Linked DNA regions of Homo sapiens: region 2 is linked to region 1. The links are contacts of gene promoters, found by promoter capture Hi-C in human tissues and cell types (Jung and others, 2019). All regions are on one chromosome and are shown on one strand. Each heading gives the region's core, a stretch centred on a gene start or on the middle of the fragment in contact. The rest is flanking DNA. Distances are from core to core; before and after follow the strand shown.

The links. Contacts are between HindIII fragments. The study calls those that stand out against the background at their distance.
Region 2: a fragment that was not itself captured here is called in contact with the fragment with the promoter of ZNF850 in region 1 in 2 of the 25 tissues and cell types used here (adrenal gland and dorsolateral prefrontal cortex).

Annotation. Positions count from the first base shown.
Region 1 is chr19:36,771,402-36,777,683 of GRCh38, reverse strand. ZNF850 (zinc finger protein 850) reads left to right here and starts at 4,877. Exons shown (of 5, transcript NM_001193552.2): 1 at 4,877-4,959. It overlaps LOC728485 (a long non-coding RNA gene), which reads right to left and starts at 4,531. Exons shown (of 2, transcript NR_164117.1): 1 at 4,175-4,531; 2 at 606-2,298. RefSeq lists enhancers at 4,617-4,776, 4,917-5,056 and a silencer at 5,043-5,337. The HindIII fragment of the contact is 7,262 bases long and covers 1-6,282 here.
Region 2 is chr19:37,475,396-37,480,927 of GRCh38, reverse strand. It overlaps ZNF570 (zinc finger protein 570), which reads right to left. Exons shown (of 5, transcript NM_144694.5): 3 at 4,921-5,047; 4 at 4,494-4,589. Among named protein-coding and RNA genes, the nearest start is that of ZNF570, 8.8 kb to the right of the region's middle. The HindIII fragment of the contact is 4,482 bases long and covers 1-3,875 here.

The DNA of each region.
Region 1 (6,282 bases), core at 3,628-6,127:
ACAGCGTTTCACCATGTTGGCCAGGCTGGTCTCAAACTCTTGACTTCAGGTGATCTGCCCACCTCGACCTCCCAAAGTGCTGGGATTACAGGTGTGAGCCACCACACCCGGCCTATTTTTACTTTTATGAAAACAGGGTCTCCTTATGTCATCCAGGCTGGTTTTGAACTCCTGAGCTCAGGCAATCCTCCTGCCTCGTACTCCCAAAACTCTGGGATTACAGGCATGAATCACTGAGCCTGGCCTTTAAATGCTTTGAAAGACAAAGAACAGTAACAGAACACAAATCAAATTGTCATATTTTAAGATAAACACTGTAAGCTAGCAGACAATGTTATATAATTCAAAATTCTAAGTGAAAACCACATTCAACCTAAAATTTCAAACCTAGTTAAGGTGTCATCCAAAAGAGGTAGAATACAGACACTGTCAAGCTTATAAGGGTCCCAAAGTTTTAACCCAAATTCGCCTTTGTCAAAATGGTAAACAAAATAAGAACGTGTTTTTTACAAAAATGAGAAGCTAAACCAAGAAAAAAAAAAAAAAGACATACGCTCCAAGAAACCAGGGACCCAATATAAGAGGCACAGGAAATGCCCGAGATGTTCAGGTGCTGGGTATTTATTTATTTATTTAATTTTTTCTGAGACGGGGTCTTGCTTTGTCACCCAGGCTGGAGGGCAGTGGTGCCATCACGGCTCACTGCAGCCTCGACCTCCCAGGCTCAAGCCATCCTCCCAACTCAGTTCTTTTGCCAGTTGGCATCCTTTTACTTATTCATTGATGAATCCCACATATTCATTTATTCACTCTACAGTGGTGAAATCTCTTAGAATTATTTTCACTAAGTAATAAAAGTTAACATCACCAAGAATGGAACACATTGACACTGTGTGTCTCTCGATGGGATAAACCACATGAGTTATGTGGTATTCCTCCCAAAGATACATAAAAGATGAGGTACATCCAAATTAAAGAACACTCTACAAAATAACTGTCCCGGCGCGGTGGCTCATGCCTGTAATCCTAGCACTTTGGGCAGCAGAAGTGGGAGGATCTCTTGAGCCCAAGAGTTTGAGACCACACTGGGCAACATAGAACACCCCATCTCTACAAAAAATAAAAAATTACCCGGGCGTGGTGGCGCAGGCCTGTAGTCCCAGCTACTCGGGAGGCTGAAGCAGGAGGGTCCCTTGAGCCCAGGAGTTCGAGGCTGCAGTGAGCTATCATCGCGCCACTGTATTCCAGCCTGGGCGATACAGCAAAGCCCTGTCTCCAAAAATAAAACCAAAAACCAAAAAACAAAACCCCAAAAAAACTCACCACCACCAAAAAACAAAATAAGTAACCTGTATTCTTTGAAAATGTCAAGGTCGGGAACAGGTAGGATACACAGAAAACAAATAGGTGGAAGATTTAAATCGAAATATTTTAGTAGTTTCATTAAATGTACAGAGGAGAGTATGTGCCTATCATTGGGAGTCTGAGACAAGATAAAAGCACGGATCTCATAACAATAAATTACTTTGAAATCTTCTTTCTTGCTCAGTACAGGTCCCGCCGCCGCGCCGCCTGGCTCTCGTATTCCTGGTTCTCGGCGGGCTGTGGGGCTTCCGCGCCGCAGCCGTTAGTCTCGTCGGGTAGGTGACTCCTTCAGCGAGCAGGCGCAGCGACGAGAAAGGCCTGGCGGGGTTGCGCTGTCTTCCCGCCCACCGGAAGGCCCTGAGGAGAAGCCTCGGGCCCTGAGGGAGGGCTTGGGGTCGGGGGCGGCCGCTGCCGCCGCCATGTTGGGCTGGAGGTACGCACGCTCCCAACGCTCTCTGGCTGCGCTCCCAACGGTATCTGGCTGCAAATCACGGCGGGAGCGCCTCGGGCCTCTTGTCTTTTGACCCTGTCCTTGGAACCCGAGGAGACTTGCCGTTCCCGGGGGAGGGTGTGTGTGAGTCGGGCGGCGGAGGCCGTCTACGCCATTGTAGGGGCGGGGGGAGCCGAGATTAGAGCATCAGCCTGAGAGAAGTGGTGCTTCTGGTTCTCCGCTCTGCCTCGCATCTTTCAGCGAGGCCTCGTACCTCAGTTTTCCCATCCGTGAAGTGGAGCTGGGCCTGCCTGACTCATTCATTCATCAGGTGGAGGCCTTGACGCTCTAGGAGCCCTTTCAAAGGACTTTGCCTTACACGAAATAGTACCTATCGTTATTCACTCTGCAGTAACCACCCGGATTTGAGTGGCGGGTGTTTGCACAGTAATTCAGTTTCCTCTTCACCCTCCTGCCATTCGTCTTCCCCTCCAGTTTATCTCCTGAAAGAGTTTGAAATCAGCCTTGTCTATTATTGATAAACTCCTGTAGGTGTATTTGGTATTTCCCTTAAAACATGCAGACCAAAGGAAAGGCAATATTTTCCCCCCACGAAGCAGTTAACTTGGTAGAGGCCAGCCGTTGTATGGAAGAGAAAGAGAGTCTCTTCAGGACAGGCAGTTTGGATCCTGCTAAACCAGAATAAAAAATCTAGAACATGGGCCGGGCGAGGTGGCTCACGCCTGTAATCCCAGCACTTTGGGAGGCCAAGGCGGGCGGATCACGAAGTCAGGAGATCGAGACCATCTTGGCTAATACGGTGAAACCCCGTCTCTACGAAAAATACAAAAAATTAGCCGGGCGTGGTGGCGGGCGCCTGTAGTCCCAGCTACTCAGGAGGCTGAGGCAGGAGAATGGCTTGAACCCGGGAGGCGGAGTTTGCAGTGAGCCGAGATCACGCCACTGCACTCCAGCCTGGGCGACAGAGCAAGACTCCGTCTCAAAAAAAAATAAATAAATAAAAATCTAGAACATGGATGTCCCCTTGCTTTAGCAGACCTAGCTGATCACACAAGGTCCTGTATTGTTAGGCTGCATCACAGGCCGCAAAGACCCAGGTATCTATCCAGTTGTTAGAAACCATCCTGAGAGTTAGATACCACTTTTCTGTTGGAAATACAGACCATTTCCTGAAGCCGTATGGTTGAGGTAAAACAGGCCTTTTGCAGTCTTATATTTTGAGTAAGGCCAAAACTGCCTAGTGTTACAAAACCAGACAAAAAGCCCAGGTACCCAGTCTTGCAGGATAGAAATGTGTGACTAAAATGAAGCATCGATCTGAGAAGACTACAAATGAGCGGGAAAGATTGGACAGGAGCATGCTATACATTATTTAGATTAATGTTGATATTTAAGGAGCCAGGATATTGGTTTGTTTTTGAGGGGTGCCCATCTACTTTATGTAAGAAGCTATAAACTACACTTCTTTCAGTTTCTGCTTAATCCTTGCTCAAACAAGGAATAATTTCTTATTCCAAAGTAGACATTGGTACATCTTTTACTAGGTACATAATTTGGGATGAAGTCTGATAAAGCTCCTTAGAAGTACTTACAGTACACCCTCACAAGGGTGTACCATCTACCCATGGTTTAAACAGAAATTAAAATTCTACCTTCGTGGAAAAATTTGCCAAGTTTTAATGGATTCAGTGCTCATTAAAAACTTTTAGCCTGTCTTGATCTTTAACATAATTATTGGTGTGAAACAATGGCTTCTGTGGAAAATTAAAGTTTTAGTGGTTTGCTATTTGTGAAATACAGGCTTTTTCATGTATCATATTAGCATATAAGCTGGCTTAATCATTAGTACTGATCTTCAAGTTACTAAGACACCAGATATTTGTTACTTTGTAATTTGAGTTTTTAAAAAAATTCCGAAATTGGCTTTTCGATGTGTGAAAAGGACTACTTATTAGATGCTTGTTTTTAAATTTACATTCAATTAATTAAAGCTAGACTCTTTATATTCTTAGGCTTGGTATACTATTTGTATGTTTTGTAGTAAGTGTATAAAAATAATACCTTTGACTTTGTATAAAAAAAATCTTTCTTGCTTTAAAAGCCATGTTGGATTTGCATTCTAGACCGTAATAAATATAACTACTTTAACATAAAAATCTATTTATGTTGTTTATCAGATATTAGGGGTTTTTTTCCCTCTCCTGTCAACCTCCAAATAAAATCGATGCTCCAGAATGATGCCCTCTTATCATAATTTTACAAATACCTGGCTCCAAGGTTACTACCTGATACAAAAATACAATGCTGGTCTCCCAAACAGGCAACTCACATTGACACTCACACAGCTTCCACTCACACCTGCGATCACAAGGCAGCATCTTCGGGCCCTCGTCGGCCACGATCCGCTCCCAGAGAGCATTCGCGCACAATCTTATCCCATCCACGATTTTGATTCCTTTTCTCCCACTTCTTCAACCCTATCCGGGACGAGACCATCAGGTCCCACCTCCACCTTCACCTTCATTTTCCGCGCAATGCAGACTGAGCCCTGGACTCACCCATATACAGATTGAATTGTCCGGTCAGTGTTTCATCCCCTCTGCATTCTGAGGGCGAGTTAGCATCTGGGTGCATGAGTTCCAAACTAACAGCCAGGACCAGGCTTGGAGCCAAGAATCCTTTGGCTCGCATCGTGGCTGGGTTGACCGCTTTTCTGCCCTGGACTACATTTCCCATCGGTTCTACCGTTCGGGGCTACTTCCGCCGAGAACCGGAAGCACGTTTTCCTGTGTCTTACCCCAGATAACAGAGCTGCCAGGGATAATCAGGCCTGACCACTCTAGCGGGCGAGCCGGCCCCATAGCGAGCCGCTCGGCATGAGGGCTCTGCGATCCTCGTTGGAGAGGAGCGGTAAAAGGAAACAAGCCAGGCTTGGAAATGAGAGGCATAGGGAAGCCCGCAGTCGGGCTCTGGACTACATTTCCCAGAGGATCCCGCAGGCCGACGCCACGTCTCGCGAGATTTTGGCTTCCTCTTAGCCAGGTGGCGGGACCGTTTGCTGTGCCGATTTAGCTGCCGCCGCGCCTTGGAGTCCTGAGGAACTTGGCTAGGCTGGCCCCGAGCGGAACCAGAGAATGCTGAGGGTGAGGAATCCGGCTCCGGTCCTTTTGTGTGTGGAGGGCTGAGGAGAGGAGTTTGCGTGTGTGATCGCGATGGCTGCCGTGGGTCTCCGTGGTCTGTGACTGTGGCTGTGTGGTGCTGACTCTGGGTGATCAGGTGGGCGCTTGTGACTGTGCGCGCCCGGAGTGGGTGTGTGTGTCCTGGACGACCCTCGTTGTGCGTGCGGATGTGAAGAACCGGTGACTGTGTGGTTGGACTGCGTGTCCCGGGGTGGGTGTGTGACTTTGCGTGTCTGTGCAGTACCTTGTGTGCGTGAGTTGCAGGTCTGTGGCTGTGCAAGTGCAACTTGTGTGGCCCCTTGGTGTATGTGAGAGAGGAGAGTGTGATTGGCTGTGAGGCAGTGGGTAAGTGGATATGCGGAGGCATGTGTGCGATTGGGACTTTGTGTGTCCCCTTGAGAGAAAAAACTCTTTAGGCAGTTAGGGTGGGACCTTGGTAAAAGTCCTTTAAACAGAGAAACAGCCTGAAAAATCAGGCTGCAGGCATACATAAGGAAAACTCCACAGGGGGGTTGTCCTGAAGACATTCCTCAGCTGCACTGATAAGGGACCGAGGCCCAACATAGAAACGCCTTTGTCCTTTGTGTGACCAGCGGGCTTCCACGAAATAGTCGCTTCTTTTGTGGGCATGTACACGGTGGGCTCTGTTAGATTTTGAAGGGAAGGCGAGGGTTAAAGAAAGAGAGAGAGTTGGCGGCTCTATGGCGGGGACCAACTAAATGCCAGAGCCCACTGCCGCTTCCAGGCTGGGGTAATTACAGGCCTGGGCAGGAGGGGTCTGGGCGGTATGGCTTGTTGCCTGGGAGAAAGTTGATAAGGATGTTTCTTGGGCTTTTGCCCAGCAGGATGTGATAAGGAAGTCAGGCGGTTGGGAAGGATGTTTCGCACAGCCCAAACCCGGGTGGAATGTTTCCCTCTGACCAGGGTCTGTGAAATGGTGGGGGCTTACGAAACGGTGCAGCTTGGACTAACAGGTTCCGGCGGCCACTTTCCTTTTTTGGACATGCTTTAGACTGTGAGCGCGGCCTCTTTGAATCATAACTTCACCCCCTCATTGGTCCCGGGCCAAGCTTTCACTTCAGCCCCTGATTGGTCCCGGGCCAAACTTTCACTTCAGCTCCTGATTGGTCCCGGCCCAAACTTTCACTTCAGCTCCTGATTGGTCCCGGGCCAAACTTTCACTTCAGCCCCTAATTGGTCCCGGGCCAAACTTTCACTTCAGCTCCTGATTGGTCCCGGGCCAAACTTTCACTTCAGCCCCTGATTGGTCCCGGGCCAAACTTTCAC
Region 2 (5,532 bases), core at 385-2,884, 710 kb before region 1:
ACCTAGGCGGTAGTGCAGTGGCACGTTCTCAGCTCACTGTACCTTGAACTCCTGGGCTCAGGCGACCCTCCCACCTCAGCCTCCCAAGTAAATGGAACTACAGGCACACACCCCATACCCAGCTAATTTTCGCATTTTGTAGAGACGGGGTTTCACCATGCTGCCCAGGCTGGTCTCAAACTCCTAGACTGAAGTGATGCACCTGCCTTGGCCTCCCAAAGTGCTGGGATTACAGCCATAAGCCACCACACCTAGCCAAAAGTGGATAAATCTAAACAACACTAAATATAATATGGTCTAAATTAAATAAATATAATAATGGTCTATTATACAACTTCATAAAGCAAAATAATAATTTAAGAAAAGCAAGGAATAACTGAAATGAGGGTAAGTGAAGTTAAGACAGTCTAAGGTTCTTGGTGTTTTGTTTTGTTTTGTTTTTTGAGATGGAGTTTTGCTCTTGTTGCCCAGGCTGGAGTGCAGTGGCACGATCTTGGTTCACTGCAACCTCCACCTCCTGGGTTCAAGCGATTCTCCTGCCTCAGCCTCCCAAGTAGCTGGGACTGCAGGTGCATGCCACCACGCCCAGCTAATTTTTGTATTTTTAGTAGAGACGGGGTTTCACCATGTTAGCCAGGCTGGTCTCGATTTCTTGACCTCGTGATCCACCCGCCTCGGCCTCCCAAAGTGCTGGGATTACAGGCGTGAGCCACCGTGCCTGGCTACGTTCTTGTATTTTTAGTGGTCAAATATAAAGATTAGAATTAATTTTAGGTTTTGTTAAGGTGACTATAAATGTTAGATTTTCTAAGGTAACCAGTACAGAATAGAAATAGATTGTAAAACATTCAAATTAGGAGATGGAGAAAAACCAAGAAATAAGAAAAATTTGAAAAGGCACAATTTATAAAAGAAAGTGAGGTAGTGGAAAATAAATCCAAATCTATTAATAGTACCAAAAAATTTAACTGACCACCACCATCATTTGGTTAAAAGATAAAGGTTATCAGACTGGATTTTAAAAAATGTTTATCCAAATACTGCTTATAAGAGAAACACACAGCAAGCCGGAGAATAAAGGAGTAGGAAAAAACTACATCAAGTAAATATTAACAAAAGGCAAATATAGCTATAACAATATTAAGTGAATTCTTTTTGCTTAATCAGATAGTCACTAGAATTAAAGAGAGTAACAATAATATAAGAATTCACTAGAAAAATAAAACATTCTAAAAACATATGACCAAATGAAATACCTTCAAAATATAAAAAAAACTGCTGTTACAATTACAAGAAAAAAATTTATGTATTTACCACCAGAGTAGAAGTTTCTTTAACATGTCTCTCAGTAATTGATGGCTCAAAGACATTTTTTTTAAATTCATAAGGACACAGAAGATTTGACCAGCACAGTTAATGAGCTTAACCTAATGAGCAAATATCAAACACTGTATTCAACAACCAGAAAATACATATTATTTTCAAGGACACAAAGAATATTTACCAAAACTAGCCCTAAGAAATAAAGCAAGTCTCAAAATACTTTCAATAAATGTATATTGAAGAGATCCCATTCTCTAACCATAATACAATTAAACAAGTACCAAACAAAAGCCTTCAATTTCAAACTTCTAAATAATTCACGGATCAAGAAATCATTGAGAACCAGAAAAATAATGGACAACTTCATCTAATAAGTTTGAAAACTTACATCAAAACTAAAAATATTTAGAAAAAAATACCCTAATTGCCTCTAGGAGAAATAGAAAACCTAGAATTTTAGAACATATCAAATTGAATGATTAGTTTAAATTCTTTTAACAATAAAAATTCCAAGCCAAAATGAACAAAGTTCTACCAAACATTCAAAAAACAAATAATTTTTATTTTACACAAATGTTTCTAAAGAAGAAAAAGAGAATTTACGAGACTAATCAACCTTGATTCCGAAATCTGACAAGAAAGGAAAACTGAAGATCAAATTCACTAATAAATACAGATGCAAAACACCCAAACAAAATATTGGCAAACAGCAACTAGCAAAAAGTGGAAAAGATATAAAGATGGGTTTAACTTGGGAATGCAATGTTGGTTCAACATTTGAAAATGTATGTAATTTACCACATTAAGATGTGAAAAACTAAAACCTATTAAGAGGTAAAAATCACCCACAGATGGAGAAAAACATTTGTTAAAACTCAAAAGCTTTCCACAATGAAACTCTAGCAAACAGGAATGAAAGGGTATGTACCAAAACTTTTAAGCATCAAAATTATTAAAAAACAAAATGCTAAAGTATTCTTATTAAGACCGGAAGTGGACAAGAATGCCTGTTATCACTACTTCGATTCATATTATACTGGAGATACGACAAAGGCAACAGAAAAATAAATTAAGGTATAAGAATTGAAAATGAAGAAACTACCATTATTCACAAATATATCTACTCATACATAAAATCCAAACATATTTAAAAATATTATTAACAGGAGAGATTGGCAAGGTTGCTGGATATAAGGCCAATGCATACGAAGTTAATTTCATTTCTATATATGAGCAACAAACAGAAAATATAGATAACATTTAACACAGCAACAAAACTAATATGTTTAATGTTTACAATTTAATCTAACAGAAGATGTGCAAAGCCTTTTTTGGAGAAAATTATAAAACACTGAAAAAAGTGAAAAAACCTAAATAAATGGAGAGCTATACCATGTTAATGAATTTTTAAAATTTCCAGAATTGATTACAGAATAAATAAAATTTGAATCAAAAGTTAAAATTTGAATCAAAAGTTAACAGCATTTTGTTGTTTTCTGATAGAAATTTACAAGTTGACCCTAAACTTTATATTGATGTCCAAAGGGCAAACAAGAAATTCTAAAGAATTTAAACAAGCTGTAGAGATTTTCCCTAGCAGATAATTATCCTTCTAATAAACTATTTTTATTAAGACAGTGTGGTACTGGTATAAGGAAACAGAGATCAATGAAACTGAATAAAGCTTAAAGTCAAACCCATATATAGACTAAAACCTGGTATATTAAGAGGTAACATTCAGAAAAACAGGCAGAGGGAACACTTATTCAAAAAATATCTGGGACCTTTGGTTTTCCATAAGATACAGAAATTAAATTCTTATTTAAAATAATCCTCAAAAATAAGTTCCAATTGGATTATGGACCTACATATAAAAGGACAATCTTTAAAAGACTATTTTCAGATATCTATATGAACTCAGAACATAGAAAGGTTTCTTAAAGTATCAAAAACATAAGCTACAGGCTGGGTGCAGTGGCTCACGTCTGTAATCCCAGCACTTTGGAAGGCTGAGGCTGGCGGATCACCTGAGATCAGGAGTTGGAGACCAGCGTGGCCAACATGGTGAAACCTCGTCTCTACTAAAAATACAAAAAAATTAGCCAGGCGTGGTGGTGGGTGCCTGTAGTTCCAGTTACTGGGGAGGCTGAGGCAGGAGAATCACTTGAACCCAGGAGGCAGAGGTTGCAGTGAGCCGAGATCATGCCACTGTACTCCAGCCTGGGCAACAGAGCGAGACTCTGTCTCAAAAAAAAAAAAAAAAGTTACAAATACACACACACACACACACACACACACACACACACACACACACACGACAACCTCCCCCACAATGAGCACCTTAGGAAAAATCACACATGCAACCTGTTTTTCCTTTTCTCTCGCACCACAACAATAAACACAGAAGGCTTCTGTGACTGAATGTGGGGGTTTCTCTCCACCAACAAGCAAGCAATGAATTCTGCAGTGGGTGTCCTCTACCTCAGCTCTATTTTGATACTGTCTACCTGGAGATAGCATCAGATCCCTCAGGTTGAGGACTCAGTCCCCAAGGCTGCCTACACTTCTGATGCTCTGTAGAGCTCAAAAATTTATAAGAGGCCAGGCACAGTGGTTCATGCCTGTAATGCCAGCACTTTGGAAGGCTGAGGCAGGCAGATCACGTGAGGTCAGGAGTTTGAGACCAGCCTAACATGGAGAAACCCTGTCTCTACTAAAAATACAAAAATTAGCTGGGCGTGGTGGCATGTGCCTGTAATTCCAGCTCCTGGGAAGGCTGAATCAGGAGAATTGCTTGAACCCGGGAGGCGGAGCTTGCAGTGAGCCGAGACTGCACCACTGCACTCCAGCCTGGGTGACAGAGCGAGACTCTGTCACAAAAAAAAAAAAAAAAAAAAAAGTTTATAAGACTACTACAAGATTTTTTAAAGACTGAGAGGCTTATGAAACTGAGAGGGGATGGGACTTGTTAGAAAGGAGATAGGAAAGTAAGAGAAGGGAAATAATTAAAAATAACAAATGTGGGAGAACATCCTAAATGGCCCCAAATTTTTATGAAAACCTAGAACATTTGAGAAGAATTTGGAAGCCTGAAGAGTGAAGAGGTGATACCTTTGAGTCAAGCTGAGCTGTCACGTGCAAAGATTTTTGCCAATTTCCTCTTCACTAACCTGAGCACAAGCCTTTTGTCAGCTCTCTCTTCACCATCCAGGGTGCTTTTCCTTGTTCCAACAATAATATCACACTTGGTTTGGAAAAGCAAAGTCCTGCAAATACGAAAAAAAAAAGTAGAGTTTTGTCATGCTGTGGATATTCCAGAACTCACATTCAATCCTTAGCTCATCAGGGAAAAGGGAGTTTACAGTAAGCAAAAAGAGAAATGTGTAAAGGACATGTATTAGAAGGATAAGGAAGATGAAGCTTCAGGCACAGGCCAAGAATATGTTCACTGCCAAATCCACAAACACTAAGCCATTTGTTTGGCATAGGCAGCAGACATTCAGCCAAATTTTGCAGATATTATCCAAAAATTCACAATAGTGGTAGCAAAGAGCCCCTTTTGAGCAGAAGCTCAGTTTTGCAAGAAGATATCCTTACCCAGTGATACCAAGATCCTGTAGTTCTCTAGCATCACATTACTGTACAGATGTCTTTGAGAAGAATCCAGACAATCCCATTCCTCTTGGGAGAAGTCTACAGCCACATCTCTGAAGGTCACCAACTCCTGAAATGAAATAAATGGAAGAACCTTATCTCTTACCATATTCACCTCATTTCCTCTGCCCTAGGCACACTGGGCTCTCTCTGATATTACATCCTCAAATATGTAACCATGTTATCATATTTGTACTCAGGGCCTTTGTATATCTCAGATTATTCCAGTATAAAATAGCACTGCTTCCACCCCAATTCCCTATTTCCTAACCCTCCTTTATTTTTCTCCACTGCACTTAATTATTTTATTCATTGCCTGTTCTTCACCCTCCTCAACTAAAATTTAAGCTCCATGAGGGCAGAGTATGTTTTGGCTTTGGTCACTGCTTTATCCCCAGGTACAGAATAGAACCTGGCACATGTGAAGTATTCAAATTCTGACTCAGTTGAATTAATCAATGAGTGGTTTGAAGAAAATTTCAAGAAGCTAGAAAGGGATCAAAAACAATACCAGAAAGTATTCACTGTATCTCTGAAAACTGTGCTAGACCAAGC